2 separate regions of the Homo sapiens genome follow, and region 1 is linked to region 2. Evidence: promoter capture Hi-C in 16 types of primary human blood cells and fetal thymus (Javierre and others, 2016). All regions are on one chromosome and are shown on one strand. Each heading gives the region's core, a stretch centred on a gene start or on the middle of the fragment in contact. The rest is flanking DNA. Distances are from core to core; before and after follow the strand shown.

What was found. Contacts are between HindIII fragments. The CHiCAGO score rates a contact against its expected background, and 5 or more counts as called.
Region 1: a contact is called between a fragment that was not itself captured here and the fragment with the promoter of USP7 in region 2, in 1 of 17 cell types (non-activated CD4 T cells). The highest score is 5.1, in non-activated CD4 T cells.

Annotation. Positions count from the first base shown.
Region 1 is chr16:8,818,706-8,822,343 of GRCh38, forward strand. All of the region lies in intron 7 of PMM2 (phosphomannomutase 2), which reads left to right. Among named protein-coding and RNA genes, the nearest start is that of PMM2, 23 kb to the left of the region's middle. RefSeq lists a silencer at 491-540. The HindIII fragment of the contact is 5,228 bases long and covers 1-3,638 here.
Region 2 is chr16:8,962,031-8,965,457 of GRCh38, forward strand. USP7 (ubiquitin specific peptidase 7) reads right to left here and starts at 1,876. Exons shown (of 31, transcript NM_003470.3): 1 at 1,177-1,876. The coding sequence starts at 1,255. USP7-AS1 (USP7 antisense RNA 1) reads left to right here and starts at 683. Exons shown (of 2, transcript NR_184341.1): 1 at 683-864. RefSeq lists an enhancer at 247-783 and a silencer at 1,979-2,338. The HindIII fragment of the contact is 5,189 bases long and covers 1-3,427 here.

The DNA of each region.
Region 1 (3,638 bases), core at 344-2,843, 140 kb before region 2:
AGAGTGAGGAAGTGTGGCGTTGGCCGTTGCTTTTCAAAATATTTGCCATCTTCAGAAACCCTGTCATTCTTCCCATCAGCCACAAAAGCCAGTGTTTCTTAAAATCTGGCTCTGAGTTCAGCATGGAGGCCCTGGGCCTGGCATGGAGTACCTTGGTTTGTTGCAGAGAGAGAGAGACGGCAAGGGCAGAGAGCACACACCACACATGGCTCTGCATGGCTTTCCAGAAACCACCCTGGCTGGATCACCCTCAGCCACTCTGAATTCGCAGGCAAGAGAACCTGTACTTACCCATGCTTTCTGTAAAAGTCATCTTGGCTTTAAGGCAGTTGCAACATGAAAACATTCTAACACTTCATGAATATCAAGCAGCTGGTTTGGTTTTTGACTTGACGCTTCCATTTTGGGTAATTTGGCTATCAGTGCACTCAAGCATGTGTGAAAGACTCACGCAGAGGGTTCAGGGTTGGGGACAGCCCCGCTGCTCCTCAGGAGGCTGGCCACATGACAGTGGTCTGTCTCTGCACTGGGATGCCATGTAGCTGTAAAAAGAGTCCATGTGGACCCATCTCTAGGGCTTTTTGTTAGGTGATCAAAGCAAAGTGCAGGACAATATAAGTAATGTGCTGGCTACATTTTTGTCTAAAGAGGGCAAAGGAATTTCTCTTTTTGTTAGCTTATAAATGCATAAAAGGAGTCTGAATGGATGAAATTTACAGAGGTTACTGTGGGGGTGGGGAGGACAGGAGAGAGAATTGCCACCTAGGTCTTAACTCTTTCTTAATATGTTTGAACTATATGAATGTGCTATCTATTGAAAAATAAAATTTTTAAATCAACTTGAGAAAAGGATCTGAGTAATCCCTGTAATCCTGGCTACTAGGGAGGCTGAAGTGGGAGGATTACTTGAGCCTAGGAGTTCAAGATTATAGTGAGCCACGATTGCGCCACTGCACTCCAGCCTAGGCAACAGAGCGAGACCTCGTCTCTTAAAAAAAAAAAAAACAATAAAAATTAAAAATTTTTAAAAATTGAAAAAAGGGAGGAAATGTAAATCTTCCAGCACTTCCTCAGTGTCAGACCCTGAGCTGGACACTTATGTTGTACATGCTCCCAGGGGAGACAGCAGCATCCTCCCTCTTACAGAGGAAGCACAGTGGGAAGTCCAGGGTCTCAGCTAGTCAGAGACTAAGCTGGGATCTGAAAGCCTCGCCTCTGTCATTCTCCTACATCGCTTCTAACATGCTACCTGCCTTCCTTTTAAGTAAATTGTGCAACATTTTATTCTCCAGAAATGTTAATAAGGAAGATCTGCCTTTAAAATTAGCTTAAAAATACAAAAATTAGCTGGGCGTGGTGGCGCATGCCTGGATCCCAGCTACTCAGGAGGCTGAGGCAGGAGAAGCGCTTGAACCCGGGAGGCGGAGGTTGCAGTGAGCTGAGATTGTGCCATTGCACTCCAGGCTGGGCAACAGAGTGAAATTCTGTCTCAATAAACAAATAAAGAAAAACAAAATTAGCTTAAAAGAGGTTTGTATCAGTGTGGACCATGTTGACCCAGATCTGGCCCCACCATTCACCAGTGACCTTGTGACAGTGAGGACAGTGACAGTGACCTCGTCAGCCCAGTGAGGACACAGTTCTTCTTTTTTTTTTTTTTTTTCCTGAGACAAGGTCTCACTCTGTCACCCAGACTGGAGTGCAGTGGCGCAATCTTGGTTCACTGTAATCTTGAACTCCTGGGCTCAAGTGATCCTCCCACTTCAGCCTCCTGAGTAGCTGGGATTACCGGTGCCCACCACCACGCCTGGCTAATTTTTGTATTTTTAGTAGAGACGGGGTTTCACCATCTTGGCCAGGCTGGTCTTGAACTCCTAACCTCAAGTGATCCGCCCACCTTGGCCTCCCAAAGTGCTGGAATTACAGGCGTGAGCCACCACTCCCGACCACAGTTGCTCTTCTGAAGGAGTCATATGAGAATGAAGTGAAGGCATCTGAGGAAAGTGGGTGACGCAGGGCCTGACTCAGGAAAGGCAGCTGGGACATGCATCTTTGGCCTGGTCCACAACCAGCGTCTGCTTCCTTCACTTTCTAAGAAAGTTATTCAAAGGCTCATCTGTTATTGAGATTTTCCTAAGAGATTGGAGCCTGCCAAGTCCCTCAGTGAAGGGCCATCCTTGTGAGTGAGCACCTTCCTACACACCTTCCAACAGTTCATTAGAGCGTGAATTAGTGAACCATGTCCTCCTGTCCTCAGGTTCCAAGTTAGGCTTTGGATGGCAGTTGGCCTTTGCGATCCTGGACTTAACCATGCCTAGCATCTGTAGCTCTTTCAGGACTCAAGGCTAAGGAGGGCACAGAATGGATTCTGTGGATAGATCTGTCTTACTACTTATTGCTGGGACCACATGATTTGAGACCCAGGTCTTCTTGTGTGGCTGGTGGCAGACTTAGCTTCTTAACATGTGAGTCCCTCACTCCTGGAGGGACCCTGAGTGAATTGCCGCTCCCACAGTCAGCTTCCAGAACTGACTGGCAGAAATTGATGAGAGGTTCTCAGCCTGGTGGAGATGTCCCACCCGCTCCTGTGTGGGAGGCCAGGAAGCAGGGTGTCATGCATGGGAGCCACGAGCTTCAGATGTTCCTGCTAGCCCACCTTCCTCCTGAGTGCCAGACTCCACAGAGTCCATGGCCCTGGGTGTTGGTCCCAGGAATAGGACTGTGGCTAACAACCAGCCCACAGAGTGAGCATCCCTGCCTGTGTCTGTGCTGAAGCTCTTTCATTCAGGGAGACACTGGCTTCAAACCCCTGGAGTGGGGCTGGCCTTCCAGGGAGCCCCTTGATGTCCGCAGAATCGGCATCTCCTGTGGGCATTCCAGGCCCAGATCCGTCACAGAGCTGTCTCCTCTGCCCTTGAAGGCCGGAGAGGTGAAATGAGAGGGCTGTGCTCAGAGCCGTCAACAGACCCAAGGGTCACTCGCCCTAGGGCCACTAGCCCCTTGGCCAGCTCAGGTTCCACCCTCGCCCCCAAGCCAAGGGGTGTTTTTTCCTAGATTCTAAGTCACTGGTGCTCAGCCCTGGATATATATTGGAATCACCTGATCACTTTCAAAACATCATGACCCTGGGCTTGGGCCATGCCCCAAACAAGCATTTTTAAGGCATCCCCAGGGACTCTAGCCAGGGAGAGCCACTACTGCTCTACGCCATTTCAGAGCAGGCTCTTGTCTCATTGGCCCTGTAACTGCCCAACAGGTTCTCCTTGCCCACTGCCTAGACAAGAGCCGATTTATCAAGACAGGAGAGTTGCAGTAGACAAAGGGTAATTCACGCAGAGCTGGCTGTACAGGAGACTGGAGTTTTATTATTCCTCAAATCAGCCTCTCCAAGAATTTGGGGATCAGAGTTTTTAAGGATAACTTGCTGGGTAGGGGCTTGGGAAGTGGAGATTGCTGATTGGTCGGCTTGGAGATGAAATCATAGGGGGTGGAAGTGAGTTTTTCTTGCTATCTTCTGTTCCTGGTGGGATCAAAGAGCTGGTTGAGCCAGATTACCTGTCTGTGTGGCATCAGATACTGCATCAGAACACAGGGTCTACAAAATATCTCAGGCACAATCTTAGGTTTTATGACAGTGA
Region 2 (3,427 bases), core at 626-3,125:
GTTATTCTATTCAGAGGTGAACACCAGTCACGCTTAAGTGTTCCCACCAACCGGTGTGCAGCGCCCCACACTTGGAGCCACCGCACAGGACAAATACTGCTTTTCCTGAGCTCCCCTGGAGCTTCATTCATTGAGGCAACCCAAGATCCCTTGCTAAAAGCAAAACTAAAGCATTCCACGCCGTTTTCATTCAGGTGGCCTCCATTTGACTCCCGACAGCCTGAACTCGTCACGTAGGTAAGAAAACTTTTTAAAGACCATTTGGACTTTGCTTTGTTTCAGTGAAATGGGTCGTGAGAAAAAGTGCCTTCCAACGACCAACTCCCTAAATCCAACACCCTTCTCTTTACAGCGTCTTCACATCCAACCTTTACAACCAAGACTCTATACCTCAAACTACAGTGCCTTGGAAAATTACTGCCACATCGGCAGAAAACCGAGTTACCTTTCGAGTCAGGTTTGATTCTGATGCAGGCAGCCATGTGCGGCAGGGCTTTCGCACGGTTGCAAGCGCACACCTGGCCGGATGCTGGCTGCACCACACACTGCCAAGTACAAACTCCCCGAAAAACAGGTGGATTCGGAAACCAACAGCGCCCGGGTCAGAACTCTGGGCCAGTCCAAAACCTGACAACATCTGCGTTCCTTGCAGGTATTTTCGAACGTAAGCCCGACGCTAGGCAGTGCTGTTAGAAAGTGATTTGGAAGAGCGCTTCCGAGCCACGGCGCGCCCTCCGGGGGAGCGCACCGGAGCAGGTGCGGGCGAGCCCCGCGCCCGGGGAGGTCAGGAATTCCCCAGCCACACCAGATCCAACCGGACGCCCCAGAACGGGGACGGTCCCCGGAGTCCGCCTCCCAACCTGGGTGAGAAAACACCTCCGTCCCTCCGCTGCCTGAGCGCTCGAATTTACAACTCAGGGCGCTTTGTGCCGCGGAGGCCCGGCGGACGCGAGGTCGGGACAATGCACGGGGCCGGGGTCCCGGCGGCCGCCCCTCGCCCGCGGACCCGGCATGACTTTGCAGCCTCGCAGGCCGGGGCCGGGAGGCCAGGCCGAGGCCCGGCGGCCGCCCGGGGCCTGGTTAAAGATGGCGAGCCCCTCGCGTGGCTCCCGCGGCTCCCCCGGCCACAATGAAAGGCGCCCCCCGGCCCCGCCGCGGCCGGCCCTCGGGCCTCACCTTCCATCTCCATGTCCTCGGGCTCGCTCAACTGCTGCTCGCCCGCTTTCTGCTGCTGCTGCTGCTGCTGGTGGTTCATGTCGGCCGCGGCCTGGGCCTCGCCTGCGGCCGGGGGCCGGGGCTGCGAGCCCGGCGGGCGGGCGGCGGCGAGCCGGGGCGGCGGCGGCGGCGGCGGCGGCGGGGCGGCCTCCTCCTCCTCCTCCCGCGCGTCGTCGGCGACGGCGGCCCCGGGGCGGCCCGCGGCGGGCGGCGGCGGCGGCAGGGAGACGCGCACGTACTTGCTCGCGATTCGCCCAATCTCGGCGCCGAGGCGGGCGGGCGGCCGGCGGGCCGGGCCGGGCGGCCTCGTCGCTCGCTGCGGCCGCCGCCGCCGCCGCCGCGGGGCCCGCCTCCCGCCGCCGGGGCCGGGGCCGGGGCTGCGGGGCCGCGGGCCGGCCGGGGGCGGAGGGCGGCCGGTCGGGGGCCGCGGAGTCAGCCCCGCCTCGGGCCGGGCGCGGCGGACGGGAGGCCTGGCCGGCCGCGGCGGGCCTGCGGGCCCTGGGGCCGGCGGGAGCGGCGGAGCGGGCGGGCGACGGGCCGGCCGCGTTCCGAGAGCCGCGGCCTCCGCCTCCTCGGCGTCGTCGTCGGGGCTCCGGCAGCGGACGCGGCGCCCGGCAGCTCGGCTCGGCTCGCTCTCAAAATGGCGGCGGCGTGAAATGTCACATCCGCATGGGGGGCCGCGGAGCGAGCGAGCGAGCGAGGAGAGCAAGCGGGCGGGCGCCGAGCCGGAGGGCGGAGCGGGAGCGCAGGGCGGAGCACGGGAGGCGGAGCAGGGAGCGACCCGCCTGCCGCCGCCGCCGAGGCCCGCCTGCCCCGCAGCGCCGCGCCCCGGCACCGCCTGCGCCGCAGCCCCGCGGCGGACCCTCGGCGCTCCCTGCCCCCGGGCCCTGGGGGCCGAGGCGGGCCGCCCGGTGACTTAGCCCTGCGGAGGTGAACCGGAATCCTTCCCATCCTGGGGAGCCGGACACCCCGAAAGACCCAGGAGCGGCAATGAGGAGGGGCCCAGAAGCCACCCGGCAGCCGGGGTTCAGGTCCCAGCCTAGCGCGCCGGGGCGAGCGCTGGAGGTTGCCCGGGGACTGCTCGGGATAGGGCCCGGAAGGGAGCTTGGGGTCAGCGCCTAGAAGTTCCTGTTATTGTCGTTACTTACCCTTGCCCGCTGACGTGCACTTTTTCACCCAGTATCTACCGTGGAAGAATTTATTTTCTCACTGTCAGCCTAATCTGGCAAAGTTTGGCTCCTCAAGAGCAACCCCAGGCGGGGCGCAGCTGCTCACACCTGTGATCCCAGCACTTTGGGAGGCCGAGGTGGGAGAATCACTTGAGGCCAAGAGTAAGAGACCACCCTCTCTACAAAGGTTTTGGGTTTTGTTTTTATATTTTTGAAATGTATTTTTAATTAGCCGGGTGTTGTGCCTCCTGCCTGTAGTGACAGCTACTTGGGAGGCTGAGGCTGGAGGTTCGCTTGGGAGGTTGACTGAGGCTGCAGTGATCAAAGATGGCGCCACTGCACTCCAGCCTGGGCAACAGAATGAGACCCTGTCTCAACTAATAGTGATAATAAAATAATAATATAAAAATAAAACAAGCCCACTACCCTTCACATTTGGTATTAATTTACTTCCTTCCTATCAACCCAGTCTGGGATCATTCACCCGGGGCCTCCCTATTCCAGGAGACATTTGGTGAATATATCTCCTGTCCTGTCTCATTCAGTCATTGACAGACTGATGATTAGGGTCTCAACTTTTCCAGTTAATCAAGGCAGTGTGGGTCAATAAAAATGGAGCAAACCGATATACATTTCTACACATCTCAGGGGAGAATAGAATTTCACCCTAACAAGGCCAGAAGATTGTGGTACCTGTCTTCTCTCCATCTCCCTATACCCGCTTTCCCTGCATTTTTCTCCCATTTATGTACTGTTCATCTCCCTTCCCCCCGAAAGAATGTTTTGCTCACTGTTGTATCACAAATGCCTGGGATACACAGCAAGTGCTCAATAAAAATTGGTTGGGCCAGGTCGGCGCGGTGGCTCACACCTGTAATCCCAGCACTTTGGGAGGCCAAGGCGGGCGGATCACTTGAGGTCGGGAGTTTGAGACCAGCCTGACCAACATGGAGAAACCCCGTCTCTACTTAAAGTACAAAATTAGCCGGGCGTGGTGGCGCATGCCTGTAATCCCAGCTACTCAGGAGGCCGAGGCAGGAGAA